Linked DNA regions of Homo sapiens: regions 2, 3, 4, 5, 6 and 7 are each linked to region 1. The links are contacts of gene promoters, found by promoter capture Hi-C in blood cells and fetal thymus (Javierre and others, 2016). All regions are on one chromosome and are shown on one strand. Each heading gives the region's core, a stretch centred on a gene start or on the middle of the fragment in contact. The rest is flanking DNA. Distances are from core to core; before and after follow the strand shown. Region 1 holds the start of GTF2E2 (general transcription factor IIE subunit 2). Region 2 overlaps RNF122 (ring finger protein 122). Region 3 overlaps CCDC25 (coiled-coil domain containing 25). Region 4 overlaps ESCO2 (establishment of sister chromatid cohesion N-acetyltransferase 2). Region 5 overlaps MAK16 (MAK16 homolog). Region 6 holds the start of ELP3 (elongator acetyltransferase complex subunit 3). Region 7 has its middle 85 kb from the start of EXTL3-AS1.

The links. Contacts are between HindIII fragments. The CHiCAGO score rates a contact against its expected background, and 5 or more counts as called.
Region 2: a fragment that was not itself captured here is called in contact with the fragment with the promoter of GTF2E2 in region 1 in 1 of 17 cell types (non-activated CD4 T cells); the score reaches 5.4 in non-activated CD4 T cells.
Region 3: a fragment that was not itself captured here is called in contact with the fragment with the promoter of GTF2E2 in region 1 in 1 of 17 cell types (activated CD4 T cells); the score reaches 5.4 in activated CD4 T cells.
Region 4: a fragment that was not itself captured here is called in contact with the fragment with the promoter of GTF2E2 in region 1 in 1 of 17 cell types (activated CD4 T cells); the score reaches 5.4 in activated CD4 T cells.
Region 5: a fragment that was not itself captured here is called in contact with the fragment with the promoter of GTF2E2 in region 1 in 1 of 17 cell types (monocytes); the score reaches 6.4 in monocytes.
Region 6: a fragment that was not itself captured here is called in contact with the fragment with the promoter of GTF2E2 in region 1 in 1 of 17 cell types (fetal thymus); the score reaches 5.5 in fetal thymus.
Region 7: a contact is called between a fragment that was not itself captured here and the fragment with the promoter of GTF2E2 in region 1, in 1 of 17 cell types (neutrophils). The highest score is 8.2, in neutrophils.

Annotation. Positions count from the first base shown.
Region 1 is chr8:30,655,812-30,660,087 of GRCh38, reverse strand. GTF2E2 (general transcription factor IIE subunit 2) reads left to right here and starts at 1,852. Exons shown (of 8, transcript NM_002095.6): 1 at 1,852-2,115. RefSeq lists enhancers at 1,309-1,980, 2,652-3,323 and silencers at 1,758-2,167, 2,178-2,267. The HindIII fragment of the contact is 11,766 bases long and covers 1-2,976 here.
Region 2 is chr8:33,554,459-33,558,734 of GRCh38, reverse strand. RNF122 (ring finger protein 122) reads left to right here. Exons shown (of 6, transcript NM_024787.3): 2 at 1-120. Among named protein-coding and RNA genes, the nearest start is that of RNF122, 11 kb to the left of the region's middle. The HindIII fragment of the contact is 4,905 bases long and covers 1-4,169 here.
Region 3 is chr8:27,762,731-27,767,006 of GRCh38, reverse strand. CCDC25 (coiled-coil domain containing 25) reads left to right here. Exons shown (of 9, transcript NM_018246.3): 2 at 1,756-1,803. Among named protein-coding and RNA genes, the nearest start is that of CCDC25, 7.8 kb to the left of the region's middle. The HindIII fragment of the contact is 2,330 bases long and covers 627-2,956 here.
Region 4 is chr8:27,784,685-27,788,960 of GRCh38, reverse strand. It overlaps ESCO2 (establishment of sister chromatid cohesion N-acetyltransferase 2), which reads right to left. Exons shown (of 11, transcript NM_001017420.3): 6 at 959-1,076; 7 at 1-114. Among named protein-coding and RNA genes, the nearest start is that of ESCO2, 12 kb to the right of the region's middle. The HindIII fragment of the contact is 622 bases long and covers 940-1,561 here.
Region 5 is chr8:33,487,865-33,492,140 of GRCh38, reverse strand. It overlaps MAK16 (MAK16 homolog), which reads right to left. Exons shown (of 10, transcript NM_032509.4): 2 at 3,714-3,763; 3 at 3,512-3,621; 4 at 3,343-3,407; 5 at 3,002-3,153; 6 at 1,802-1,856. Among named protein-coding and RNA genes, the nearest start is that of MAK16, 4.8 kb to the right of the region's middle. The HindIII fragment of the contact is 5,323 bases long and covers 1-4,276 here.
Region 6 is chr8:28,089,977-28,094,252 of GRCh38, reverse strand. It overlaps ELP3 (elongator acetyltransferase complex subunit 3), which reads right to left and starts at 1,114. Exons shown (of 15, transcript NM_018091.6): 1 at 1,020-1,114. The coding sequence starts at 1,038. RefSeq lists enhancers at 1,439-1,488, 980-1,533. The HindIII fragment of the contact is 717 bases long and covers 2,036-2,752 here.
Region 7 is chr8:28,614,343-28,618,618 of GRCh38, reverse strand. It overlaps a transcript of EXTL3 not described here. Among named protein-coding and RNA genes, the nearest start is that of EXTL3-AS1, 85 kb to the left of the region's middle. The HindIII fragment of the contact is 3,428 bases long and covers 571-3,998 here.

The sequences.
Region 1 (4,276 bases), core at 603-3,102:
ATGCTTCTGATGTGTTCTGATTTAGGGATGTTGGCAGGGGAAGCTGGAAGTTGTCTAACTTGAAGCAGGAAACTTAACAGGATTGGTTTGGGAAGAATATTTGGCTTTCTCTGGCTGATACTGGTGTCTGAGGACAGAGAGGTTAAAATAGAAAAGTTGGCAGCCTTCTTGAGAAAATTCTGACCATTTTGAGCTGATTGCTGTAGAGGTTATGGTTTGGCTTATGTGAGTTAGAGTGTTATTATCATATGCGGTTTAGCCATTGTCCATATGTATAAGTCTCTCACTCATTAATAAGGGAGCCAGCAGAATCATAAAACGGATTTCTACCAGTTCTGAAAAATGATATTTATATAATCGTTGGGGAAAGGAATGCTGAAATAAAACTGCTCAGTTGATACAAAACCGGTTAATTTTTCTCAGAAAAATGCAACCTTAACCTTTGGAATTTTATCTATCTATCTATCTATCTATCTATCTATCTATCTATCTATCTATCTATATACACACTGAATTCCCTGCCCCTTTTTCCCCTAACACCTCATCAGTTTCCTACCAATTGATGTTTGATTTCATCCTTTTGTAAATCTTCTGGGCCCTAATCAATTGTTATTCAAACAAAGTTACATTTCCTGTGGGTGTCAGATGATCAAGTAGGCTTATTACAAAATTCTCTAGAATGAAACTAATAAAAGTCACAAAATATTATCTTTTGACTTTTTTCCAAGTTTTGAATAAAATTTTAGGTATTTTCTCACTTAATTTTCACCACAGTCCAATGCAAGTAACTCATTGTAGTAGTACAATGATTATCCCCATTTCCCCGATGAGAAAACTGAGCCACAGTTTCAGTAACTTGAAGAGTAACCAGTAATTCAACGACAGCCACAGAATGGCTGAGCACTGGCTGTACTGCCGCTTTAGGTTATAAGAGTGAGGGAAGGCCTGCCACGCTGCAGGTTTCGGGCAATGAAATTATTTTTTCCACTGCTTTATTTCCACCCATTTATCTGGCTTCTAAATCCAAAATCCTTTTCTAAGACAGTTCACAGGGGTGGAGGGAAGAGGCTGGGCTGTGCTCCACATCAGGCTGCCTTTGCTAGCTGTGTTGTCTTGAGCAAGTCATTTATTAATTAGCTTCCTGGCCCTCTGTTCTTCGCTTGTAAAAGAGCTGGAACCGCGTTCTCGGTGTGCAGGTGCTGGTGTGTGGCGCTGGGGTAAACTCACAAAATAACCGTTGAGGCCGGGCGCGGTGGCTCACGCCTGTAATCCCAGCACTTTGGGAAGACGAGGCGGGCAAATCGCTTGAATTCAGGAGTTCGAGACCAGCCTGGGCAACATTGTGAGACCCTATTAATACAAACAACAACAACAATAATAACCAAAAATAGTCCGTCGTGGTGGCACTCGCCTGTGATCCCAGCTACTCCGGAGGCTGAGGTGGGAGAATGGCTTGAGCCCAGGAGCGGAGGTTGCAGTGAGCCGAGATCGCGCCACTGCCCTCCAGCCTGGGTGACCGAGTGAGATCACGTCTCTAATAAGAAAAAGACAAAAAACACAAAGTAACCATTGAAAGATAGCGTCGTCGGCTGGGTTCACCACATCCCAGCGCACGCCGGAGCAGGCTGTAGCAGTTTTAATAAAGTGTCTATAAAGAAAGCTGCCTTCCATCTTCAGTGGCGCCGCCTCCCACTTCAGTCCCCTTCTCGGCCCCACCCCAGCCCTTCCCTCGTTGTCATGGAGGCCCCAGGACGCCAGAGCGGGATAGTTCCGCTCCCGCGGCACCAGAGGCGGGGCACGCAATGACGCATGCGCTCGCTTGGCTGCCCTGGCGCCGCGGTGGCTGCCGGGACTGAGCTCCTAGCACCCGATCGGGAAGTGGCGGGCGGAGTCCCGGGTCCAGTCGCCGCCTCAGCTACCGCCGCTGCCGCCGCCGCCGCCGCCACCGCCAGTGGTGAGACCCCGACCTGGCGGGTCAGCGCTGGGCGTGCGTGCGGGCAGGCGGGGGCGCTGACGAGAAGCAGGAAGAGGGTGCAGTGCCGGCGTGGGCGGCCGGCCGAGGCGGAGGCGCAGGAAGGGGGCGGCGAGTCGTGCGAGGCTGCCCTTCTCACTCAGGTAGGGGCTGCGGCCGCCGGGTGTGGGGCGCAGAGCCCCGGCTTGCTGTTCCCTGGGACGCAGGCGCGCCGCCGCCTCCCGGGAGGCTGAGCGTGACCTCCACCTCACGGGAAGCTGGGACCGCCGTTCTCGAAGCGAAACACCCAGCACGCGAACCGTTCCCCGGAGCATTGTCTTTAGGCCAGAGGTTCATTGAGCAAACTTTTGGGTTGGAAAGAGGGAAAATTCGCGGTCTGCCGCCTGACTGTGCCTCTTCCAAGCCTCCAAGTTCACGGGCGCGGTAGCCAAGCGAACCGTGTGTGGAGTTTGAGCAGCCGCGGGGTCCAGCCAGCTCAAGACTGTGATTTAAAATGATGCTCATACGCGGACTGCTTTCTAGGCTACCTTTTGGAGATTTGGTTTGTGATGATCCCTAAACTTTAACGATAGTAGTTGATTTCTGCAGTCTAAACAACGCTGCGGCCCCCTTTTCGCCCACCTCCCCACTTCCGTCATTTAAGGGCGAAGCAGCCTGCTTTTCATAGCCGGGTCCTGAGGTGCCAGGGACACTAACGAGGCTGGGTAAAAGTGAAAGAGAGGGGAAGTAGTAAGGTTGAAAGAGGTCGAATGGTGGCAAGAATCGTGGGCTTGGAGGCAGATTTCAGTTTAATTTTTGGGTTTTCCGTGTCTGCCCACGGAGGAACCAGCCAACTCCTTGAGTTGTGGTTTTGTTTAATTGTAAAATGGACATGGTGATGTAGCCTGTTTACTCCATAGGGGGGTCCAGAGATCTAAAACTTAGTACACATATTGGGTAGTCTTTGAAAAAGGAGGAAAAGTTAGGCGGAGCACGTGATGGTGAAAGACAGACATTGCGAAGCTTTCTGCTCTAGATGCCTTTGAACGTTCCCGAACCTCACAGGTGGCCTTTGTTTTAAAGGCCTTTACCAGCGTTCCAGGTCTGGTGTAAGGAGCACTTGAGTTAGGAGTCAGGAGGTTTGGTTCCTGGCCCTGGCTCTTCCATCTGTGCGACCTTAACCAGACAGCTTCACTTCAGATTTCACGTATTAAAATAGGAATAACACTAATACCTGTTTGCTCCTAGAGTTGCGAGGGTCAAATACTGTAAGCATTTAGTTTGTTGTAAACTGTACGGCTTTATTTACTTTTTTTTTTTTTTTTTTCTGAGACGGAGTCTCGCACTGTCGCCCGGGCTGGAGTGCAGTGGCGCGATCTTGGCTTACTGCAAGCTCCACGTCCCTGGTTCAAGCGATTCTCCTGCCTCAGCCTCCCAAGTAGTTGGGATTACAGGCACCCGCAACGACACCCTGCACATTTTTTAAATTTTTAATGGAGACGGAGTTTCACCATGTTGGCCAGACTCGTCTAGAACTCCTGACCTCGTGATCCGCCCTCCTCGGCCTCCCAAAGTGCTGGGATTACAGGCGTGAGCCGCTGCGCCCGGCCTATTTAAATCTTTTAGAGTAATTTTTTTAAAGTCCAGATTGAGGTCCTGCCTTTGCAACGTGAAATAAGACACAAATGTTTCCTGTTCTAGAAATTTACTTTTTGCTCCCACCTTCTCACTTGACAATTCTCCTTTCTTCTTCTTGGCCCCACGCTTTCCCTCCTCCCAAGGCTGTCTCCTACTTTCCTCAGCCCGGTAAATCATTCCCTTCTTTCAGATCCAACTCAAAATAGTAATACTGAAATAACACGTTTTTATGACTTTACTGTTTAAAAAATAACATACACATTTTCTCATTCTTACAATTGGGCTGGATGTGGACAGCTTTCATAGCGTCCTCATTTCACTTATGAAATTGAATGTAGAGGCCTTGTGGGTTGCCTAGCCAGGTGGCTTTAGGAATTGAAACTGAGGCCGGGTGCGGTGACTCACGCCTGTAATCTAAGCACTTTGGGAGGCTGAGGTGGGCGGATCACTTGAGGTCAGGAGTTCAAGATCAGCTTGGCCAACATGGTGAATGAACCCCGTCTCTACTAAAAATACAGACATTGGCGGGGCGTGGTGCTGCGCGCCTGTAGTCCCAGCTACTCGGGAGGCTGAGCCAGGAGAATCGCTTGAGCCCAGGAGGCGGAGGTTGCATTGAGCCGAGATTGCACCACTGCACTCTGCCAGCCTGGGCGGCAGAGCGAGACTCTGTCTCAAAAAAAAAGAAAA
Region 2 (4,276 bases), core at 468-2,967, 2.9 Mb before region 1:
GTCCTGCTCGATGCCACCCATCAGTTTCCAGGACCTTCCGCTCAACATCTATATGGTCATCTTCGGCACAGGCATCTTTGTCTTCATGCTCAGCCTTATCTTCTGCTGCTATTTTATCAGGTGCGTGGATCCCTGGCTGACCGGGGTGGGAGTCCAGCAGGAGGGAGGAGACCAGGGTTGTGGGGTAAGCTGAGCGAGGGTCCCACAGCAGAGTCACCAGTCTTATACTGGAGCCACCACTTTGAGGACACGGCTGAGCCTGCCCTTCTCTAGGCCCCTGAGGATCTGGTGTTTCTATTTACATTAGCCTATCAAGTTGTTCCTGAGCATATAAGGTCACCACGGGTTGGGCTGCATCCCACCTCCTCGCCAATTATTCTAAGGTTGCCTAGAATTACTGTGTGACTGAGTAATAAAGTTAGTGGTCCCTTCCTTGTCTGTCTGTCTCTATTCCTACTCATGCCCTTTGGGTGGTCGGGAACAGGTGGGCATCAGTTATGCCAGCGTCATGTTCCTTTGCCCTCCTGGGACCTGTTGTCAGCCCTCCAGATACTAATATTAGGAAGCAAGCCGGTGTCTAGAGAGCTACTTGGTTTTTGTTTTGTTTTGTTTTTTTGAGATGCTCAGGCTGGAGTGCAATCTCAGCTTACTGCAACTTCCACCTCCTGGGTTCAAGCAATTCTCCTGCCTCAGTCTCCCAAGTAGCTGGGATTATAGGCGCACGCCACCACGCCTGGCTAGTTTTTGTATTTTTAGTAGAGATGGGGTTTCACCATGTTGACCAGGATGGTCTCGAACTCCTGAGCTCAAGTGATCCACCCACCTCAGCTTCCCAAAATGCTAGGATTGCAGGCATGAGTCACCACACCCGGGCGGAGCTACTTGTTTATTCCGCCTTATAAGCTCTTATTTTTGAGAGTGGAAAAAACCAAAACAAACCTAAAAAACTGTCATTTATTCTTGATTGCTTAGGGATCCAAGAGAAGACCTGGAGTTTGGCAGGGCTCGCCACACTCCAGGAACGCTTTCTCTTATCTCTTGTTGAAGGACATGGGGACTGGTGGCTGTTTTCTTTTTACTTTTTCTTTCTTTCTTTTTTTTTTTTTTGAGACGGTGTCTCACTTCATCACCCAGGCTGGAGTGCAGTGGCACAGCCTTGGCTCACTGCAACCCCTGCCTCCTAGGTTAAAGCGATTGTCCTGCCTCAGCCTCCCTAATAGCTGGAATTATGGGTGCATGCCTAGCTAATTTTTATTTTTGTATTTTTAGTAGAGACGGGGTTTTGCCACATTGGCCAGGCAGGTCTCGAACTCCTGACCTCAAGTCATCCACCCCCCTCGGCCTCCCAAAGTGCTGGGATTACAGGCATGAGCCCTCGTGCTCGGCCTCTGGTGGCTGTTTTCTATAAAAAATTTTGAGCATGACTGGTATTTAGAATGGGAATCAAAGTAGTAGTGTTTCTGACTGGGGTTTACTGTTGGCATTGACAATTCCTCATTGTATGGGACTGTTCTGTACATTGGAGAATATTGAACATCCCTGGCCAATAGGGCATACTAGTAGTCTTTAGGGCCATTGTGGCCATTAGCTGTCTCCCCCGCCACCCACACATTACCAAATGCTTGGGTAGACATCAGCTGTGGTCTGGGCTGGTGACTGATCAAATAATTTAAGAAGATTAAATTAAGATTAAGGAAAAGGCTTTGCTGGCTTTATTCCTAAGATGCCCTTCTGGGTTTGAGTGCTTTGCTAGAAGGCAGCTACAAGAGAGGCAGGTACTAGTCCATCTTCTCCAAGGCTGGAAGAGCTCCCTCTAAGAAGGGGAAGTGCCCTCAGGCACATCTCCCCACCACTCCCAGGTGCTACCTTGGACCTGTTCTTTCTCAGAACTTTTCACACAGGTCCCTGAAACTAGAATTTTCCACATAAAAATCTATGCAGAGGAGATACTGGTTTATCTTCCCTCTTGTACAGTTGGGTCTGAAGATTGCATCTAACCATTAAGCGGAGATGAGGGTAGATTTCTGGTATCTCTCCTCTCTTCCTGTCTCCTCCCCTTTCCTGAAGCCTGTTTTTTTCCTTGAATTCTTCCTGACCACCAACCTGCCCACTCCCGCACACCCGTGTTAAGCAATTCACACTTAAATCCTGGAGACAGGGATGAAGATACACCAAATACCAAAGATTTCTTTATGATGAGGCTGAGAGGGGTTTGTAAAACCAACTCTCCTTGGTCCCTTTCCTCCCTGCTCCCCCTGCCCACCACACACACACAGAAGCATACACATGCCAAGCGGCAAAGGGCTTCAAGAGACCATCTAGGCCGGGCACCATGGCCCTTGCCTGTAATTGTAGCACTTTGGGAGGTCAAGGCAGGAGAGTCGCTTGAGTCCAAGAGTTTGAAACCAGCCTTGGGAACAAAACTCCATCTCTACAAAAATGACTTAGAGAAAACTACTCTAGGCTAGGAAGTGGGTGACCAGAGTTCATTTCGTAAATCAACCAATAATAGGTGTGACCTTAGGTTTTCTTTTTTTTTTTTTTTTTTTTTTTTTGAGACAGGGTCTTGCTCTGTTGCCCAGGCTGGAGTGCAGTTGTAAGATCTCGGCCCACTGCAACCTCCACCTCCCGGGCCCAAGCCATCCTCCCAACTCAGTCTCCCGAGTACAGGTGTGTGCCACCATGCCCAACTAATTTTTTAATTTTTTGTGGATAATTTTTATATTTTTTGTAGCGATGAGGTTTCACCATGTCACCCAAGGTGGTCTCAAACTCCTGAGTTCAAGCCATCTGCCTGCCTCAGCCTCCCAAAGTGCTGGGATTACAGGCATGAGCCACCGTGCCCGGCCTTTAGCCACTCTTTACCAAGGGCTTTCCATAGGCCAGGCATTGTGGTCAGCATTTGAAAAAACATTTAGCTCGCTTAATCCTTAGTATAGGTATTGACCCACTTTATAAATGAGGAATTTCATGCTCAGACTGTTCAGGATCTGCCCAAGGTGATACATAGAGGAAGATACAGAGGTGGACAAGTCTGGTAGCAATGAGCTAGGGTCTTGCCGAGTCCTTCCAAGTGTTTGCCTTTTGAGTCATATTCCTTGAAGTAGAGGAGCCGCTATAGGCTCCACAACCACCCCCTTGCAGGTCAGGATCTGTTCTTGCAGAAGGACAGGTTTGAGAGCTGTGAATTGCTGATTTCTTTTTCTTTGGCTGTGGTCAAAGAACAGAACAGGGCTGGGCGTGGTGGCTCACGCCTGTAATCCCAGCACTTTGGGAGGCTGAGGCAGGTGGATCACCTGAGGTCAGGAGTTCGAGACTGGCCTGACCAATATGGTGAAACCCTGTCTCTACTAAAAATACAAAAATTAGCCGGGTGCTGTGGCAGGCACCTGTAATCCCAGCTACTTGGGAGGCTGAGGCAGGAGAATCACTTGAACCCAGGAGGTGGAGGTTGCAGTGAGCTAAGATCATGCCATTGCACTCCAGCCTGGGCAACAAGAGTGAAACTCCCTCTCAAAAACAAACAAACAAAAAAAAACCCAAAAAAACACAAAAAACAGAACAGTAACCACATGATGCTAAAAGCTGACCCCACTGTGGTGCTACTGAGCACCACCTGTTCCTTTAGTAATCTCCTTCGTCACCCTGCCCTGGTCTGTAGCCTGCCTGAAGCCTGCTGACCCTGGAGTTTCACAGTCTCAGAGGCCCACTGGTACATGGTAGCCTGTGAATGTCTATATATAGAAAGACACACAGGCGCAGAAGCCACCACTTCCTCTCCCTGCTTCTCGGTTTCCTCCTCAGCCAAAATAGGCCCCACTTCTGACCTGGTGAGCTCAGCGGCCAAGGCCAGCCCCTCGCTCATTCTTCCCCCTCTCTCAGAGCTGACCTCTGCCCTACACAGGAATGGAGGGGCCGGGGAAGTACAAATAGGCAGGAAGGGAAACATTATTTTCAGGACCTGGCTGCATTGTTTGTTCTAAAAGGGAAAAGAGGAAAGGGAGAGCCCACTGGCAGCGGCTAGAAATGGTCTCATTGAAATCAGGGTATTTTTAGTTGCTGTGTTCACCCAACAGCTGAGAAGGCCACCTGTCCAGACTGGTTGGTACTAGGTCCCCAGCTGGGATTGCCCAGGGTTTTTGCTTTTTGCTCTGGTTTCCTTGCAAGCTTTTCGGCCACATTTCATCATGATCTCATCCTTTCTGAGCTGAAATCTGTATGCAGGATGAGGGGGCAGCTCTGATGCCCCTCCCTGTTCTGAGTTTTGGAGGATCCC
Region 3 (4,276 bases), core at 542-3,041, 2.9 Mb after region 1:
GTTGTTAAAAAATGTTTATGCTTCCATACATATGAAGTATGTGCTTATATAAAAATAAAACATGTATGTGTATGTATATACACACACATACCATTATAATCATTTATTTTTTATAAATTGAATCATATAGATACACAAAAATACTGTTCGGATATTTAATTTCTTCACCTGCCGTTTCTTTTTAATGGGTACATGGTATTTTGTTTATGGATGTTCAAATCTGTAATATATTTAAAGAGTCTCTATTAAGGGATGTTTAGGTTGTAAAAAGATTATTGCTTGGTGGAGTATTTTGGTACTCTATTATGGTAACATTATAGGTAGTGACGTTATAGGATTGAAAGGGTATACACTTGAACTATTGCCAGGCCATGCAGAGAAAATCTGAAATGCTTTTTAGTTTTATTCCCACCCTTTTGGCATTTGTTACACGCTACACTAAGGCCTGATCAAGGTACTACAATGCTCAATAATAGACAAGCATTTCTATAAACTTGGCGATGCACACATTCTTTCAAGGTACTTTTCTCAACTACTTCTGGACTTCAGTTATTATAAATGTTAAACAAAGGAATTAGTTTTCTCTCCCCCGAGAAAGGCAACTAGGATTGATCATTTAAGAAGCTTCTCATTACTGAAAGTACAGGGCATCTCTCTGATATAAGGCTTTTTAATTTAGGAGAGCGTATTGCCCTTTGTCCTTCAGGGCTCCAGGTACATGTGTGTGTTCTGTGCTGTGGAGTGATAGCCAGCAGGCTGTTCAGCCCAACCCTGCACTTATCAGTACTTTGCTTCAGTGTGTATTTATTTTTCAGTACTTCTCCATCACAGGCTTTGTAGCCTGAGGGCCCAGTGTCTATGAATTCAGGAGTTTAGTCCAATTGGATCAAACAAGTTTTGGTAAACTAGCTTTGAAACCTGGCACTCAGTTATCCTTTCAGTAGGAATCCAAGGTAGGGACGTCTGCAATAAAACACCACCTTGGTAAAGCAAATATCATTTCTAGGATAAACCATACCCAGAAGATTCCATTTGAGTTAGGATAGTTGTTTCTAACCCTGACCTTATATTAGAATCACTTGGAAGGCTTTTAGAAAACACAGATGCTCACTCTTGCCCACCAGAGATTTGGATTGAGTTGATCTGAGGTGGAGCTGGGGCATAATTAGATGATTCTAATGTAGATCAGGGGTCAGAGTCACTGGTTTAGAAGTTGGAGAGTCATGGTCTCCCTGAATGTGATAGAGAGCCTGTTAGAATATGCAGCACACCTGGAATATGGGTAATATTGGCTAAAAACAATTATGCACAATAAAACTTTGGTAAACATGGGAACTTAGTTGTGGTGTTTAGTTTTCTTTTCTTTTCTTTTTTTTTTAACTCTTAAAGAAGGCAAAAGTATAGGACTGGACTGGCGATACCATTGAACTGTAACCCTGAGAAAGTAGGAAAGTAGCTATTAGTAAGGATGGTAAACTTTCTCTTTTGGGGCCAGATAGTAAATATTTTAGGCTTTGTGAGTCACCTACAATCTCCGTGGCTTATTCTTCTTTGTTTTGCTTTTTTTCCAACCCTTTAAAAACGTAAAAACCATTCTTAGCTCAAGGGCTGTCCAAAAACAGGTGGTAGGCTGGATTTGGATCATGGGCCATGGTTTGCCAGCCCCTAGTCTAAGAATTGTCACTTGTTTTTCACATGAAACAATTTTGTTGGTGATGAAGTTACTAATTGTTTTTTATTTTTGTTTTATCTTAGTTAATTCATCTGCCTACACTATTTACATGGGAAAAGATAAATATGAAAGTAAGTTTTCAAAAGCATTTGATTTTGAAATTTTCAGCAGGTAAGTGTTATCTCTCACTCACCACCTTCCATGCCCCCCACCCAGTTTGTTGGTTCTGAGTTTTCACCTACTTTGATAAACTAGCTTTTGAGAAACAGAACAAGCTCACATAGGGAGACAGCAGCACCTCCTAAGCTACATAAGAAAAATGCTTTAACTATCAATGTTACTTGTGATGATTTATGGGTTAGTAGGAGAAATGTAAAACTCAAGTGTTAATATGCTGCAGACTGCTTCACCATTAAATCACACCCAAAGTTAATGTCACAACTTTATTATCATGAAAAAGTACTAAGGTCTATTTTTTAAAAAGTATAGACAAAATGAAGTAACATGAATAGTAAATGCTGTCGAAGTAGACAGATCAGAGATAGTAAATGTGATTGAAAGCTGAGAAGGCTTTGTGGAGGAGTGGGTTAGGATGGACTAGATTGTGGAATCCTTTGAATGTCTATTGTAGGAATATATAGATACAAATCTAGATACATAATTTATGTCACAGATATAAATTTAGATGATATTTTTAGAGCCCTCTGGAGTGGCATTTTGCTGTCATTAAAAACCTTTGTAGAAAAAAACGTAAGAGGCCAGGCATGGTGGTTCACGCCTGTAATCCCAACACTTTGACAGGCTGAGGCGAGAGGATCACTTGAGCCCAGGAGTTCGAGACCTGCCTGAGCAACATAGGGAGACCCTGTCTCTACAAAAAACAACAATAAAAGAAAATATTAGCTGGGCATAGTGACACACACCTGTTGTCCTTGCTACTCTGGAGGCTGAGGCAGGAAGATCGCTTGAGCCTGGGAGGTAGGCTGCAGTGAGCTGTGATCATGCCACTGCATTCCAGCTTAAGAGACAGCGAGAATCTGTTGTCTGAAGTAAGTGAATGTATGTATGTATGGAACACTTTTTCCCTGGGAACTCTTAGAGTCATTTGGAGGTATCAACTTTTCCTAGGTTGCCTTGTAAGAACGGACATTACTTCTCTAAATCACCCCATTGTCTGGCATTCCTAGCCCATTACATTTATTTCTAATAGTGTTTATGACTTCAGACCAAGAACTCGATAGAAACATCAATTTAAGTGGAATGATTTACTTTCACTGAAAAGCTTTCAGGTCTGTTCTTTTTATCAGCCAGCAGGTGTCATCAGGGAGCCAAACTTTGCCTGACTGAGGGAAAGAGATTTTTTAAATTTCTCTTTCCTTTTTTTGCTTACCTTTTGGCTATTTGCTCAGTCCTACTTAAAGCATTAGAAAGCCTTTCAGAAAACTCATAGTGTCTACGACTGTTATGAGTGCCTTTACCCAAGATGTGTCTTCCTTTTGCTTTTCCTTTTCTGGATGGTAAATACCCCATTCAAATTATATAGACCATACTTTCTTGGGTACATTTTAAATCATCACATATGAATCATTCACAATTTATTTATTTATTTATTTATTTGAGACAGTTTCCCACTCTGTCACCCAGGCTGGAGTGCAGTGGCGTGATTTCAGCTCACTGCAACCTTCACCTCCTGGATTCAAGCAATTCTCCCACCTCAGCCTCCCGAGTGGCTGGGGCTACAGGCACGTGCTACCATGCCTGGCTAATTTCTGTAATTTTAGTGGAGATGGGGTTTCACCATGTTGGCCAAGCTGGTCTCAAACTCCTGACCTCAGGTGATCTGCTCGCCTCAGCCTCCCAAAGTGCTGGGATTACAGGCGTAAGCCACTGTGCCCAGTATTGTTTATGATTTTTAAATTGGCATTTAATACTTAAATAATTCTGTATTAAACAGAATTATTACTAATTATTAATATGGCTGTAGAAATATTTATTGATATAACCTTTATGTAGTGATATATATTAGCCTTAAAAAATGTGCATTCACTTTGAGCGAATACTTTAGCTTTTAGAAATATACCTTAAGGAAATAATCAGAAATATGGACAACTTTACTTAAAAAATTTATTGAACCATTTATAATTAGAAACAAACCAAGGGCCAACAATAGAAAAGTTTATTCATATAAGAGAATTAGGTAGTCATTGTTCCCAAAGAACTTTATTTTTATTTGTATCTAACAAATACATAGTTTAAAAAGTCAAGTAGTAATAGAATGCTTAGAATTAAAAAAAGAATCCTTCTTAATACCCATGTTCCACCCCACCTGCTACCTCCCCAGACAATTACTTTTCACTCTGTTAGCTATTTCTTCTGGTGTTTTATTTCCATGTGTGATAGAATTTAAGGTGATTTTTATTTTCTTTTTATACTTCTAATGTTTGTTTTGTTTTAAATTTTCTGTAATTTTATAATCAAGTTAATTTTTCTTAAAGAAGTAAAATATTTCTTTAAAGTTTCAGCCAGTTCTTTTTAATGTTTAAGTATTATTAGGTGAATTGATTATCTGAAACATCTGAACTATTGGTTGCTTTGTTTTGTCAG
Region 4 (4,276 bases), core at 1-2,500, 2.9 Mb after region 1:
CAGAAACCTGTGGTGATGCTGTACATGCTGCATTTCATCTTCAGGGTTGGAAGCAGTATATATCATACCACAAGACTTGCACACAGTAGCCCCAAAATGTTTCTGACCAGCGTCCTATAATTGGGGGGTAAAAAAAGAAACCCATTTAAATATAGCACAAATAGCTCTAAATTAAGTTCCTATAACCATTCATTCAAATTTCACCTAATTTTTTTTTTCCTGCTGACACAAGTGAAAAACTAAATGAAAATCTGGTTACCATATCCTCCTTCCCTCCCCCAAGACAAAATGAAATGAGATCAGGCCAGGCACAGTGGCTCACGCCTGTAATCTCGGCACTTTGGGAGGCTGAGGTGGGTGGATCACTTGAGCCAAGGAGTTAGAGACCAGTCTGGGCGACATGGTGAGACTCCATCTCTTTGGGGGGGGAAAAAAAAGAGACAAGAGACCTAAAAATGCAATAAATTGATGAAAGGGAATTATTTGAATGGACAGTGTAAAAACCAAAGATTTTTTTATTTTTACAAGATTATTTACTAGACTCATGGTTCTAAGAAAGAATAAGATTAAATTGTGGAAATTACAGCTAAAATGAACAACGGAACTTTTTAATGAAACCCTTAAAGACCTGAAAAAGCCTTATTTCAAACAGGGAGGGCAAAAATTTTAGGACTTCTATATTAATTATACAATATTTTTCCTTAAGCAGCTAAGAATATTAAATTATTTTAAACAATATTAAAATTATTTGACCCAAGAGTTGACAAAAAATAGAGTGCAGGAAAAGCACAGATAAATTCAAGAATATTCAATGTCACCACCTACAACTCCCATTCTGTCACATAAAACATTGCTTAATGACATTGAAAATACCAAGTTCTGAACTGTCTAATACAGGGGTTGGCAAGCTTTTCTGCAAAGGGCTAGATAGGAGAAGCTTTGTTTGGAATTTACTCACGATGATGAGCTGGTCTTTTGTTTTTTTACTTGTATCTCTGGTATTAGTATTTTTCTGGATATTGGTCTGTTTCATGAAGTTGACAGATCCCACAGAAAACTGTTCTTCACCTAAAGATCTTGACACAGAAAGTTGATATATATAAATTTACAATTTTGGAGGAATTACAAGGGAAAGAAAGCAGCCATTTATCAGAGTACCTTGCAATTTTTAGTGCTTTCTATCTGACATTAACTTGATGAAGTAATAAGGACAGGAACAAAGAGAAACCTGAGGCCTACTCAGAGAGGGTCAGTAATTTACTCAAGGTAAAGTAACTAGTAAATGGCAGTGTTAACACTCAAATCCTGGTCCTCTGACTCCAAGTCCTAGGGACTTTCTTCCACAATATCAGATGCACATAGATGCACACTTTGGAAATTGACTTTGCCCTTTAAAAAAAGATTTTTTTGCTTTATCAAATCTTAGGACAATATTTACCCCATACAGCTATGAAGAAATTCCTGGGGTACTGGAGAAAATAAGTATAATACTGAACTTCACAGATCCACAGGAAATCAGAGTCACCATCATATTATGACCCAGCACCTGGGCAATGAAGCTTCTAAATTTGCTTTTCCTCATACCAAAAGCAGCATCTCACTACTGTGAAATTCTTAAGGAAAAAAAAAAAACAAAAACATATTTAGGCTGGATAGCTGTAGTTGAGACAACCTTTACCTATTATGAAAGAATGTTGAGATTCACTTATAGAGGTTGCAAACTGGAGCCCCTCAGGCCAAATCTAGCTAGCAGATATGTTTTGGTTGGCCCATATGGTATTTAAAAACTTTGGATTAGCTACCAATATTTTAAAATCTAGAGATTTCACTTAAAAATGTGTATTTCCAATATTAAGAGACATTGTAAGATCACTAAACCTCTACTCCATCAAAGAATCTATGAGTTCGAACTTGGAATAGCACATGCCCTTTTAAGTGGGCAATTCTTCAGCTGGCCCTAGTCTCCACCCAGCCTGCTGGTTCTGTAGGTACTGAGTTTGTAACCCTTGCCTTGTAATGAAAGGACCTTGGTTTTCCAGGGACCAAAGGAGTAGAAATCCCTAAAGAGTAGAAGTAAATAAGAAAGAAAAAAAAAAAAAACCCTAGTACCAAAAGTAAGAAGTTCAAACAACAGGAAAAAAAAAAACCTGACAAAGTAGAAAAAAAAAAAAAAAAAGGTGGAGCATTAGCTCCACTGCATTAAGCTAAGTCAAGCTATCTTCTTACCATTTGTCTGAAAAGTAGTTTTCAAACTGACTTGACAAATCTATGCTAAGAAATACATTTCACATGACTAGTACAGACATAAAACCAAAGTTTCACTAAATATACTTGCTGTGTGAGAGATACACTATTCCACTAAAAATAAATGCTATTGTTGGAGGCCAAAAGAATGAGGGTTGTGACTAACTCAGTATACCACTGGAGGCTATATGAGCAAACAGCAAACTGTTATCATGAATGCAGGTTGTTGGCAAACTGACAAACTGCATCTGCCACCCAGAAGGAATGCTGAGGGCAGTCATGCCCAGGCACAGTGTTTCTTGCGATTATCTATAGGCACATTTGAAGCCTGTTAGCAATCACGTGAACCTGTGATAAATCAAGCAGCTGACCTTTACCTCCTCCTCCCTGCTCTTTCTACCCAATAAATATAAAAGGCTGTAAAAGCTCAGGGCCCTTGCTCACTAGCAGGAGCTCCCGACCCCTTCTTTAAAAAGATCCTTTTGTCTTTGTCTTCATTTCTGCGTTCGTCCACCTTCGTTCAGTCCCATAGTAACTGTCACAAGATATGACACCCTAAACTGGTCTGATGAACTACTAATGGGCTACTTCCTACAGTATGAAAAAACACTTGTTCAAGTCACTGACCCTTTTCACCTTATGCAGCCTTTGCTAGGCTCTCCCTGACTCTGCATGCGTGACAGCCATCTCTTTGCTTCCATTTTAGCAACTCTAACACTATATTTGTTTAAATGTCTACCCTCCTCTAACCATAACCTCCTTGATAGCAAGACCACATTAATTATCTTCACATCTCTAGAACTCAGTATAGTTCAATAGCATGTGATACTCTCTAAATGTTCATTGAATTTTAAAAACCAAAAAACAAATGTGCGACTAAGCACTTTGAGAATCTGTAATCATCTGAAGTAATAGATTAAATCTCAAATTGCTGATAACTGACGTTTTGGAGTCTACAAAAAGAGCAATATCATATTATTTAACAAATAGTATCCCACTGTCTTTTTTTTTTTTTTTGAGATGGAATCTTGCTCTGTTGCCCAGGCTGGAGTGCAGTGGCACCATCTTGGCTCACTGCAACCTCTGCCTCTTGGGTTCAAGCTAGTCTCCTGTCTCAGCTTCCTGAGTAGCTGGGATTACAGGCATGCCCCATCATGCCCAACTAATTTCTGTATTTTTTGGAAAGACGGTTTCCCCATGTTGGCCAGGCTAGTCTCAAACTCCAGACCTCAGGTGATCCACCCACCTCGGCCTCCCAAAGTGCTGGGATTACAGGCATGAGCCACTGCGCCTGGCCTGTCTCTTTATGCTAGACTAAATTAGTATACACTTTTATCAGTTAATTGTGGTAGGCTTCTGCTATGGTTTGAACACGTCCCCCAAAGTTCATGTGTGAAAACTTAATCTCTAGTGCAACAGTTTTGGGAGGTGGGGCCTAATAAGAGGTGTTTAGCTCATGATGGCTCCACCTTCATGAATGGATTAATGTTGATTATTGAAGGATGTGAGGCTGCAAGCCAAGCTCTCTTGTTCTCTCATGCACACTCTCTTGTTCTGCCTTCCGCCATGGGATCATGCAGCAAGAAGGCACCCACCAGATGTGGCTGCTTGATCTCGAACTTCTCAGCCTCTATAACTGTGAGCCAAATAAATTTCTGTCCATTATAAATTACCTAGTCCATGGTATTTTGTGATAGCAACACAAAATGAACTAAGACAGCTCCCATCTTCAATAAAAGGTCATGAAAGATGACAACACAGGTGAAAAATGGGAAAGGTGAGAAAAACTAGAAACAAACCTTTGAAGAGGGAAAGCTGTGCACCCATCCTAATCACTGAGGCAATTTAAGGTGAGGTGCTCTGAGAGTAAGGAAAATGTAGCCGGGAAGTTCCTTGCTTAATATCTGGAGTTATTTATAATCAAATGGGGAGAGAAGAATCAAAGCTGCTTAGGAAGAGGATGTTTAGACCATAAGAAACTACTTTTTCAGAGCTCTGCCGCCTATCATGCTCTCTACCCATCCATGCCTCC
Region 5 (4,276 bases), core at 1,153-3,652, 2.8 Mb before region 1:
CTACTTGGGAGGCTGAGGCACAAGAATCGCTTGAACCTGGGAGGCAGAGGTTGCAGTGAGCTGGGATTGCCCCATAGCACTCCAGCCTGGGTGACAGAATGAGACTCCATCTCAAAAACAAAACAAAACAAAATCCAGACTATATAAGGAGCTCAAACAACTCTATAGGAAAAAATTCTAATTATTGGATTAAAAAGTGAATAAAAGGGCCAGACATGGTGGCTCACACCTGTAATCCCAGCACTTTGGGAGGCTGAAGTGGTTGGATTGCTTGAGCCCAGGAGTTCAAGACCAGCATGGGCAACATAGTGAAGCCTCGTCTCTACAAAATATATAAAAATTAGCCAGGCATGGTGGCATGCACCTGTAGTCCCAGCTACTTGGGAGGCTGAGGCATGAGAATCACTTGAATCCAGGAAGCAGAGGTTGCAGTGAGCCAAGATCGCACCACTGCACTCCAGCCTGGACAATAGAGTGAGACCTTGTCTCAAAAAAAAAAAAAAAAAAAAAAAAGCAGGGGGCAGGGATTGGGGAGGCAAAAGATTTGAGTAGACATTTTTCAAAAGAAGACATACAAATGGCAAACAGGCATATGAAAAGGTGTTCAACATCATTGATCATCAGAGAAATGCAAATCAAAACAATGAAATATCTCACCCCAGTTAAAATGGCTTTTATCTTTTAAAAGACAGGCAATAACAAATGCTAGAGAGGATGTGGAGAAAGGGAACCCTTGTGCACTGGTGGTGGGAATGTAAATTAGTACAACCACTATGGAGAACAGTTTGGAGCTTCCTCAAAAAACTAAAACTAGAGCTACCATACCATCTAGCAGTCCCACTTCTGGGTACAGACCCAAAAGGAAATTAGTGTATCAAAGGGATACCCACACTCCATGTGTGTTACAGCTCTGTTCACGACAGCCAAAATTTGGAAGCAACCTAAGTGTCCATCAATAGATGAATGGATAAAGAAAATATGGTACTTATACACAATAGAGTACTATCCAGCCATTAAAAAGAATGAGATTCTGTCATTTGTAACAACATGGATGGAACCGGAGGTCATTATGTTAAGTGAAAGAAGCCAGGCACAGAAAGGCAAACACTGCACATTTTCACTTATTTGTGGGATCAAAAAATCAAAACAATTGAACTCATGGATATACAGAGTAGAAGGATGGTTACCAGAGGCTGGGAAGGGTAATGGGGGTGGGGATGATTAATGGGTACCCCCGCTAAAAAAAATAGGAAGAATGAAATAAGACCTAGTATTTGCTAGCAGCACAACAGCGTGACTATAGTCAATTATTTAATTGTACATTTTAAAATAACTGTAAGGATAATTGAACTGTTTGTAACACAAAGGATAAATGCTTGAGGGGACGGATACCCAATTTTCCATGATGTTATTACTCACTGCATGCCTGTATTGTATTTCACTGCAGAAATTCCATTTGATTAGAATGCTCAAAATCTACTAAAGGTTTTATGTAGTATGTAAAATATGCAACATCAAAATTCTGAAGTCTGAAATATTTGACCACAAGAAATTCAGAAAAAGGAGTTGTGGATTCTTTCTGTTCTCCATTACATATATCCCCAAAGCACACATACTTTAACCTGTGCTGAAAATCATAATCTTAAAATATGAAAAATTAAATGTCTTAGGCAACTAATAGTTATCTATTAGTGAACCATTATCCAAGGCCTCAACAGTTTACATAATGATGGTGACTGAATCTATAAGAGACCCCCAGAAAGAAAATGTAGAAGGTATGAATATCTCAACAATAAGTTACCTCTCTTCTTTTCTCCCTACGCTCCACCTTCTTACTCAAAGGAACAAGTTTCCTCCTAAGGGAAAGAAAATATATCAGAAAATCCACTGTCATGTGCTGTGTTCCTTTTTAAGGATGAGAAGAAAAAAGGATTGGAATTGGTGACTAAAATGGAAGTCTACTCATGTGCAGGGCAGGATGGCTGAGCTTCAGGCATTCACGGAGGCTAGCGATTCAAACAAGCCTTGGAGCCCAAGGTTGGTGCTGTAGGGCTCAGCTCAATACAGCAAGATACACTAAACGCTTCTAGAAATTTAATACTATAAAAAGTCATATATTTTTACATGTATTTTAATCCGGCCATTTTTGTTCAGGCATTCTGGGATTCTCAGGGCATTCACCATGCTAAAATTAAGACTTCAGTGAACTAAGAAAAAAGAATTTTCTGTCGAAGTCTGACATCATCTTTAGCATTCTATGTAGATCACAGTCAAAAAGCATTAGGGCCTAACAGTCCTAGAGAAGGTATTCTGTTAATTCTGGGGATTTCATATCACTTTTAAAAATTAGTTTTCAGTGAATCCAGAGTAAAGTTCTTACATTCCTGTATAGTCACATGTCTTAGATCATTTTCAAATCTCTAAAGTTAAGATTCCCTCGGGGGTCATAGAGGAAATTTTCTGAAGGCTGGGCATGGTGGCTCATGCCTGTAATCCCAGCACTTTGGGAGGCTAAGGCGGATCGCTTGAGGTCAGGAATTCTAGACCAGCCTGGCCAACATGGTGAAACCCCATCTCTACTAAAAATACAAAAAAAATTAACCAGGCATGGTGGTCCATGCCTGTAATCCTAGCTGCTCAGGAGGCTGAGGTGGGAGGATTGCTTCAACCGGGGAGATGGAGGTTGCAGTGAGCTGAGGTCGCGCCACTGCAAATTCCAGCCTGGGCGACAGAGTGAGACTCCGTCTTAACAAAAAAGAAAATAAAATTTTCTGAAAGATTTTCAGACAAGGAGGGTGATAATCAAGTTGTATTCTACTGTTTTAAAAGTCCTGCCATATCAAAGGGCACACCTTTAGTCAAAGCTAAAGTTTCTCTTTAGTACATCATAACAGACTCCACAAAGTTGAATAGAAAGCCCCGAAGTTTCACAATTTCTCAACTTCAAAACAAGCTCCATAAAAAGAGAGATTTAAAAATAATGAATGATCCAAATACTTACTGTCGCTTTAGTGTAAGTTTTCTAATTCGAATTAGGTATTGGGTGATCTTGGTGAATCTCTGCTTACATTTGTGTCGAATGAAACGGGGCCAGTAAATCAGATTTTCATCTATTTGCTCCAGTGCTTTCTCATAGTTTTTACTAAGCCGGACCTACCAAACAGAAACAGGAAGTTTGAAGGGCAAGTGTAAATGATTCATTAGGTTTTCACTGTCAGTGACACCCATGGCCTAATGAGGATGGCCTCAAAAGTTAATGGTCATGGAATTGGGCATCATGGTCAAGCATGTGGCTTTGATGCTCTTGATCAGCGGTCACTGTAGTTTTGTTGTAAGGCTTACCCGTTCCCAGAGACGCCGAGGAAAAGCCGCTCGTTCTATAACCTTCATATACAAGTAGCACTGTCCTGAAGATAAAGTAAAATAGCTTTAGTGTTATTTACAGAAACTAAAGAACATCCCTGTAAAAGCTGTGGAGCAGTTCTTCTAGAAGTTAAAACTGGGGAGTTACCTTTCTCTTCTTTAATAGTGGCATACTGACTATTTGCCAGGGGACAGGATGACCGATTACACAGTCCAGTCAGGCTATATTCATTTCGGCAGAAGCTCTGAGTCTTGGTTCTAGAATGGGAGAAAAGAAACAAAGATTATAAAATGGGTTGCCAAAGAGGCAACTGAAGGAATCTTTGACCAAGTTGTAAATTGAGACTCACCTTATTTTGAAGGAACAAAATTGCTTGTTTCCTAGTGTATCCCAGATAACCTGCAAGACAAAGTAAAAGCCCATTTCAAATCCTCTGCCCCAAGAGATACTATATTAATTCAAGAAGGCAATGCCCAAGGACAGGAATGAGAGGAAGAAATGTTTTGTAAAATAGCCTGACTTGTTTACTTTTTAAAATACAAACAGCAAGGCCGGGCACGGTGGCTCACGCCTGTAATCCCAGCACTTTGGGAGGCTGAGTTGGGCGGATCACCTGAGGTGAGGAGTTTGAGACCAGCCTGATTAACATGGAGAAACCCTGTTTATATTAAAAATACAAAATTAGCTGGGCATGGTGGCGCATGCCTGTAATCCTAGCTACTCGGGAGGCTGGGGCAGGAGAATCGCTTGAACCCAGGAGAGGGAGGTTGCGGTGAGCCGAGATTGTGCCATTGCGCTCCAGCCTGGACAACAAGAGTGAAACTCCGTCTCAAAACAAAACAAAACAAAACAAAAAAGCCCAGCAGATTCTTATAGAAAAGCTAAATACAGATGAGCAATAATCATAACTCC
Region 6 (4,276 bases), core at 1,145-3,644, 2.6 Mb after region 1:
ATATCAAGAAGTAATTTCTAAGTAAGAATCAACATGACTTGGTGACAGAAGAAACTAAAAGAATCCTGGTAGATTGAGAAGGAGCAAGTTAGAGTGAGATAACAAATTAATTTAGGGCATGCAAATATGACAAGACTTAATCTAAGGTAACTTGGACACTTAGAATTGTTGCTTGGAAGAAAGAAAAATAACAGTTAATGTCAAGAAGCATAGGGATTAACGATGTATTTATTTTTCATTTTATGTTTTTTGAGGTCACAGATACAGCCTGACCAGCCAGCTCCATATCTAAGTATAATTTTGGTCTGGGAAAGTTACTTAACTCTTTGAATCTCAGCTTCTTCATCTGTAAAATGGAAATGATACCGACTTCAAAATACAAGCTCAATAAATGGTAGCTATTATTCTGACAACAATTACCATGATTAGACCAGCTGGTCAAATGAAATAGGAACAGAACCTGTGAGATACAGAAATAGGAACAGAACCTGTGAGAGAATATTTCAAATTTGAATCCGTCCTGTTGAAAAACCAAAGGTGGAATTGTTCATTGCTAACTCATGATGTAATAAAAATGGGAATAATTGCATGCACAACTCTTACACTGAATCCAAGGATAATTAAGGTTTTTTTAATATCTTAAAATAAGGCTTTAAAAGAAACTCTCTAACACGTCAAATGTGTCGTGAAACAAATCTTAACAAATGAAAAGTCCTACAACCCGTTAAATCGACGTTAACTCCTCGGAGGGCATATATTGGAATAATGGTTTCCCTGCCATTCAAACAAGACACCACGTGACTGCCAAAGAGGAAGAGAGGAAGGGTAGGGTGCTTCAAAAAGCAAAACAGGAAAAACGAGAAGGCTCGGGGACCAGAATGGACACACTGACCCTAGGTGGCGGGGCGACTGGACTGGGTAGCGGATTCTCGCGGTAAAAGTTCGGTTCAGCATTTGATTGCCTGGGCGTTCGCCCCTTTCGGACCACCCCTTTCCCCCATCTCCTTCCCCTTTCGCACCTTTCCGCTTCTGCCTCATTTCTGCGCCGCCGTAGCAGAGCCACCAGAGATAAAAATGCAGCCACAAACTCAGACCACGGGGAAAGCTGACAGCCACAAAACAATCCCGCCTGTCGTAAAATGTCGGTCAATGTATCGTAAAGCTCTTCCCGGAAGCCGACGTGCACAAAGCCACGCCCCGCCCCGTGTTGCAACTAACAGGGTAGCAGGCGGCCCGTGAGGCCCCTAGGCTGCGATCCTGCCCCGGGTCTCAGGGATGGAGGATGGGAACGTCTGAACGGAGTGGCATCTTGGGGTTAGAAAGCTCGACCTGGGCAGTACAGCTATGGGACAGAGTTCCTGGATAGAGGCTGCGCCAGGAAGCCTAAGTGAAAGGGTGGAAGTGGATGGTCTCTCATGGGGGGGAGTGGGAGCCCAGGGTCGTCACATCCGGGGAGGGTGGGTGGGAACGCGAATGGGCGAGACCACGGAGGAGGAACCCTCCCATGTTGTGGAAACTAACTGAGGGCCTGGAAGAGACCAGGCGGGAATCGAGTAAGAATCCGAGGTGCAGGCTTTGGGACCAGGTGGTCACCTTGGTCTTAGATGAATGGCACATATGATCGGTAACCATCGTGAAAGCTGTGGATGTCTCTTGTGGAAGGAAAATAACATCTCGGGACCCTAAACTCTGCCAAAGAAAAAAGTTAAGCTTAGGGCCGGGCGCAGTGGCTCACACATGTAATACTAGCACTATGCCCATCTCAGGAGGCCAAGGCCAGCAGATCATCTGAGGTCTGGCATTCAAGACCACCCTGGTCAACATGGTGAAACCCTGTCTCTACTAAAAATACAAAAATTAGCCAGGCGTGGTGGTGCACGCCTGTAATCCCAGCTACTTGGGAGGCTAAGGCAGGAGAATCTCTTGAACCCGGAAGTGGAGGTTGCAGTGAGTGGAGATCATTCTCTGTTGTCCAGCCTAGACGACAGAGCGAGACCCTGTCTCAACAACAACAACAACAACAAAAAGTTAAGCTTGTGAACTGAGTCACGCAAAAACTGCCTTCCTTCTGTTCCTAAACAGCTGCAAAGACAGAAGCCCACATATCTCCCTAGGTGGCCTCCCAGAGGAGTTGCTCACAGGGAAATTCCTTGTGAGTGGCAGAGTCTTTACCTTACAACACTTCTGTTGAATTCCACCCTGACCATGCAAATTTACAGTAGGTAGGGGACAAGGACAAGACTAGAAATCACCCTTCAGTCCACCCCAAGAAAAATGCATATTTGACTCCTTCCTCTATGTTTACTTTGTCTTCTGTAAAAGGCAGATTTACTGAGTGTGAAATGAATGCATAGTTGTTCCTCTTTCCCCTTCTGTCTGCTCTTTCCCTTTAAATATTGAAGTCCTCAAAACCCTCTTTGGAAAAACCACAGGCCACAGATTCCATGATAACTTATGTCTCTTTTTCCTGGGTGTGTCCTCAACCTTGGCAGAATAAACCTCCAGACTGAGACCTGTCTCAGACACTGTTTGGTTTACGTTCTCCAGAAAAATACACAGGCACAAAATTTTGCAAAATTTGGAGGCAGGACTTGGGATGTTTTCCTGAAACCCATCTATGATCTCCTTTGTCCATGGGCTGGAGATTAAGAACCTCTCCCATTAATAAAGACAGGAATATGTACCCTACTAGAATTGAGGCAACAACGAGGCTTTGACCCCACTATGACACTGAAACTGGCCTTGCTAAGCTTTGTAACTTCCCAGCCTGCCAAGTTCAGTGGTATTTGTCTGACCTCATTGTCATCCTATACCAATGAACATAAGTTCTCCTCTGTAAACCGAAAATAATTCTCAGCCCAGGGCATTCCAAAGTTAAACTGAAAAACTAGCTCAGGCCATGATGGGAAGTGGGGTTGGACATGCCTCCTTATTCCCTCCTCCTTTTTAGAATTCAGGAGCTGCTAACCAGTGTTAACATCAACACAGAGACCTTAAGGCTGATAGAGCACAGAACCGACTCTTAAAGTCTGATAAGAAACATTTACGGCCGGGCGCGGTGGCTCATGCCTGTAATCCCAGCACTTTGGGAGGCCGAGGTGGGCGGATCACAAGGTCAGGAGATCAAGACCATCCTGGCTAACATGATGAAACCCCGTCTCCACTAAAAATACAAAAAATTAGCCGGGCGTGGTGGTGGGCCCCTGTAGTCCCAGCTACTTGGGAGGCTGAGGCAGGAGAATGGCGTGAACCCGGGAGGCAGAGCTTGCAGTGAGCCGAGATTGCACCACTGCACTCCAGCCTGGGCGACACAGTGAGACTCCGGCTCAAAAAAAAAAAAAAAAAAAAGGAAACATTTACAATCTATTCTCTCTGAAGCCTGCTACCTGGAGGCTTCCTCTGCATGATAAAACCTTAGTCTCCACAACTCTGTGTCTTAACCCAGACATTCCTTTCTGTTCATTTCAGGTCTATAGATAATAACTCTTTCAACCAATTGCCAGTCAGAGAAAACTGAATCTGCCTGTGACCTGAAAGTGTTGCCCCCTGACCCCACATCAATGCTTTGAGTTGTCCCACCTTTCTGGTTGTTCTCTGTGGGATATGCGTGAGGGGAGAAGAAAAGACACATACACAATACCTTTAAGGGTAAACGACCTTTATCCCATGTAAATGGCAATGCAGATATAATAAGCAAATTGCAATGGGAAGGGTAGAAGGGAAAGTATATGTGTATACACACACACACACACACACACACACACACACACCCACCCATCAGACTATGGAGGATTTATCACAAGACCAAGAAGCAACAGCCTGGGTTCCAGACTTGGACACTACACTCACCAGACTATGGAGGATTCACCACCAGACCGGGAAGCAACATCCTGGGCTCCAGAGTTGGGCACTACACTCACCAGACTATGGAGGATTCACCACCAGACCAGGAAGCAACAGCCTGGGCTCCAGAGTTGGCCACTCCTCCTTGCACAGATGAGGATAGGTCTCCTGAAGCTTCGGCTGGGCCTGGGACCCTAGCTCTTTTTGTAACAAGTTGTTTGGCATGAGGCCCAGTCACAAGGGCCCTTCACAACCAGGCTCAAGGAACACAAAAAGGTCAACTTGTTTTTGCTATTGTCTATTGTTTTTCAATAACTAATGTATAGGAATAGATTGAAATAGAGATTTCTCTGAAACAGCGCTGGATGAAAGCCTCAAGGGACTCACAAAACTTGTTCCAGGACTTGGTGACTATTGTTTGTGTCCAGGTTCA
Region 7 (4,276 bases), core at 1,035-3,534, 2.0 Mb after region 1:
ATCAGCCATATGCTCCTTCCTGCTTAGAAACCTTGCTGCGCCAGGTTCAACCTCTTTCGTGCCGGACGTGAGGCTTCTCCTGATCTGACCTCCACTCAGCTCCCCAGCTTCATTCACTGCCAGCCCTGGGTGACTTCATTGAACCCAGGTTCCCATTTCCCAACGAGCTTAGTTTGCTTCTAATTCTAGGCCTTTGCATTTTCCCCCTCTGAATTTTGTCTCTTTTCCATAGTTCCCTCAGTCTATTCCCATGCCAGGAATCTTGAGTCACATCTATTGTTTTACTATTATTATTATTATATACCTTTTTTTTAAGTAGAGATGGGGTTTCACCATATTGGTCAGGCTGGTCTTGAACTCCTGACTTCAGAGGACCCACCCGCCTCTGCCTCCCAAAGTACCTGGGATTACAGGTGTGAGCCACCATGCCCGGCTTCACTGTCTTTTTTATTATGGTAAAATATTTAAGATAAGATAAAGTTTGTCATTTTAATCATTTTTAAGTATAGAGCTCAATAGCATTAACTATATTCATAATGTTAGGCAACCATCAACACTATTTCCAAAGCTTGTCATCACCCATAAGATAAACTCCGTATCTATTAAAGCAATAATTTCCACTCCCCTCTCCCCTTAGACCCCAGTGAGCTCAAATCTGCTTTCTGTCTCTATGAATTTCCATGTTCTAGATATTTCATATAAATGGAATCGTGCAATATTTGCCCATTTGTGTCTGGCTTCTTTCAGTATAGTATTTTCAAAGTTCATCCGTGTTGTAGCATGTATCAGAATTTCATTTCTTGTTTTTTTTATTGTTGTTGATTTTGGTTTTGGTTTTGAGGACAGTGTCTTGCTCTGTCACCCAGTCTGGAGCGCAGTGGCACTATCTCACTGCAGTCTCCATTTTCCTGGGCTTAAGTGATTCTCCCACCTGAGCCTCCCAAGTAGCTGGGACTACAGGCATGTGCCATCACACCTGGCTGATTTTTGTGTTTTTTGTAGAGACAGGGTTTTGCCATGTTGCCCAGGCTGGTGTTGAAGCCCTGGGCTCCACCAGCAATCCACCCACCTTGGCCTCTCAAAGTACTGGGATTACAGGTGTGAGCCACCATGCCTGGCCTGATCTTCATTTCTTTTTATGGCTGAATAGTACATATATATGGTACTATTGTACAGTGTATATTGTACATATACATTCCTTTTTGTTTATTCATTTGATGAACACTTGGATTGTTCCCACATTTTGGCTATCGTGAATAATGTTGCTATGAACATTAGCTTACACTTCACATATGTTTTCTCCTCCACATAAGATCTTATTTCCACTGTAGACCCTAGTCACGGGCCATCCCCATGAAAAATGAGGAAGGAAGCTGCCCCATCTTCTTTCTGTGTCCTTGCCTTCTCGGAACGGGGTGTTGGTAGCAACAGGTATGACTCATTCATGGTGAAATTTTTGGCATGAGTAGGACAGGGCAATCTTGCAGACACTCCTCAAATCATCCCACAGACACACCACATACTTGGCTTGGCTAAAAAGCAAGTCCTGCCAGGACAAATCCTCTCAAGACTAAGACACTCTTAACAGGAAGTGGGATTCCTGGAGTTGGGTATTAGTAGGCATACTGTGTTTCCTTGATGCAGCCTTTGTGAAAAGGGTTTGAGATTGCAAAAGACGTGACCGTAAGAAGGAAGCAAAGAGGAACATTGAGAATAAGCCTGGAAGTCCGTTTTGTCTTCCCTTCAGTGTCCACAGCTGGTTCCGAGGCAATGCGTTCCAAGGCAGATGAAGAGGAGTCTCCAGGTGCTGTGTCACCAGCTGTTTCCTGGGAACCCTGATGCACTCCTGGTTCACTCTCCACACCCAAATCTATACTCAGCGCACACCTGTTAACTGAATTCACTTAGAGAGGAAAACTCTTAAGCATTCAGGCGGTATCAGCCCTGGGCAAGAATCTTGAAGAGCACACATTTTGGCTTTTTTTTTTTTTTGAGACGGAGTCTCGCTCTGTCGCCCAGGCTGGAGTGCAGTGGCATGATCTCGGCTCACTGCAAGCTCCACCTCCCAGGTTCACGCCATTCTCCTGCCTCAGCCTCCCAAGTAGCTGGGACTGCAGGCGCCCGCCACCACGCCCTGCTAATTTTTTATACTTTTTTAGTAGAGGCGGGGTTTCACCCTGTTAGCCAGGATGGTCTCGATCTCCTGACCTCATGATCCACCCGCCTCAGCCTCCCAAAGTGCTGGGATTACAGGCGTGAGCCACTGTGCCTGGAACGTTTTGGCTTTTATGTCTGACTGCCTCTCTTTTTGTTTGTGGGGCTTCCATCTCCCTCCTTCAGTTACTGACTCTTAATTCCTCACCCCCTCCCCCATTTCCCTCCACCGAAAAGTATTCTTTACCTGTTTATTGAAAGTCTCTTATATACTAATTCAAACTAAAGTATAAATGACTGAAAGTAGCTTACTGTACTGCCCTTTGCAAGAATACTTCATTACATTTTTCACAATAATAATTTCACCAGTGATATCTTTTTTCTTTTTTTAAAAGATAGTCAGCATCTCCCTATATTGCCCAAGTTGGTCTCAAACTCCTGGCCTCAAGTGACCCGCCTGCCACAGCCTCCCAAACTGCCGAGATTACAGGTGTGAGCCACTGTGCCTGGCCTACTGATAGATTTAATGTAATAAAATCCAAGAGCTGGAGAAAGACATACTATGCTAACACCAATCAAAAGAAAGCTGCAGGCCGGACATGGTGGCTAAAGCCTGTAATCCCAGCACTTTGGGAGGCCCAGGCAAGCAGATCACTTGAGGTTAGGAGTTTGAGACCAGCCTGGCCAACATGGTAAAACCTCGTCTCTATTAAAAAAAAAAATACAAAAGTTAGCTTGGCATGGTGGTGCATGCCTGTAATCCCAACTACTTGGGAGGCTGAGGCAGAAGAATTTCTTGAACCCAGGAGGTGGAGGTTGCAGGGAGCTGAGATCAAGCCACTGCACTCCAGCCTGGGTGACAGAGCAAGGCTCCATCTCAAAAAAAGAAAAAAGAAAACTGGAGTAGCTATATTAATTTCAAAGTAGACTTTTGAGAAAGGAAAATTATCAGAGATACAGCAGAACATTACATAACGACAAACGGGTCAATTCTCCAGGAAGACATCAAAATACTCAATATGTATGTGCCTAACAACAGCATCAAAATAGATGAGGCAAAAACTGATAGACCTGCAGAGAAGAAATAGATGAATTCACTATTATTATTGGAGACTTCAACACTCCTCTGTCAGAAGTAGACAGATTCAGCAGGCAGAAAATCAGTAAAGATACAGCTGAATTCAACAGCACCATCAATCAGCTGAATATAATTGACATCTACAGAATACTTTATCCAGCAACAGCAAATTACAAATTCTTCTCAAGCACACATGGAGCACTGACAAAGGTAGACCACATTCTGAATAAAATACATCTTAAGAAACGTAAAAGAAAGGAACTCATTCAAAATATGCTCTCAGACCACAATGGAATTTAACTAGAAATCAATAGCAGAAAAATAGCTGGAAAATTCTCAAATATTTGGAGATTAAACAACATAATTTGGAGGGCGGGGGTGGGAGGAGGGAGAGGATCAGGAAGAACAGCTAATGGATGCTGGGCTTTATACCTGGTGGGAGGAGGGAGAGGATCAGGAAGAACAGCTAATGGATGCTGGGATTATCTTTGCAGCAAACCACCATGGCACACATTTACCTATGTAACAAACATGCATATCCTGCACATGTACCCCACACTTAAAAGTTGGAAATGAAAAACATAATTCTAAATAATACATGGAAGAAGTCTCAAGAAAAATTGTTAAACATTTTGAACTAAATGAAAATGAAAATATCATTTATCAAAATTTGTAGGTGCAGTGAAAGCAATGCAGAGAGAAAAATTTATAGCATTGAATGGAGATATGAGAAGAGAAGAAATATCCAAAACCAGCAACCTAAGCTTCCACCTCAGGAAAATTTAAAAACAGCAAAATAAATACAAAGTAAACAGAAGAACTGGGGTCCTCACACCTGTAATCCCAGCACTTTGGGAGGCCGAGGCGGGTGGATCGCTTGAGCCCAAGAGTTCGAGATCAGCCTGAGCAACATGGTAAAATCCCATCTATTCAAAATATACAAAAATTAGCTGGGCATGGTGGCACGTGCCTGTATATCCAGCTACTCAGGAGGCTGAAGAAAGAGAATTGTTTGAACCTGGGAGGCAGTGGTTGCAGTGAGTT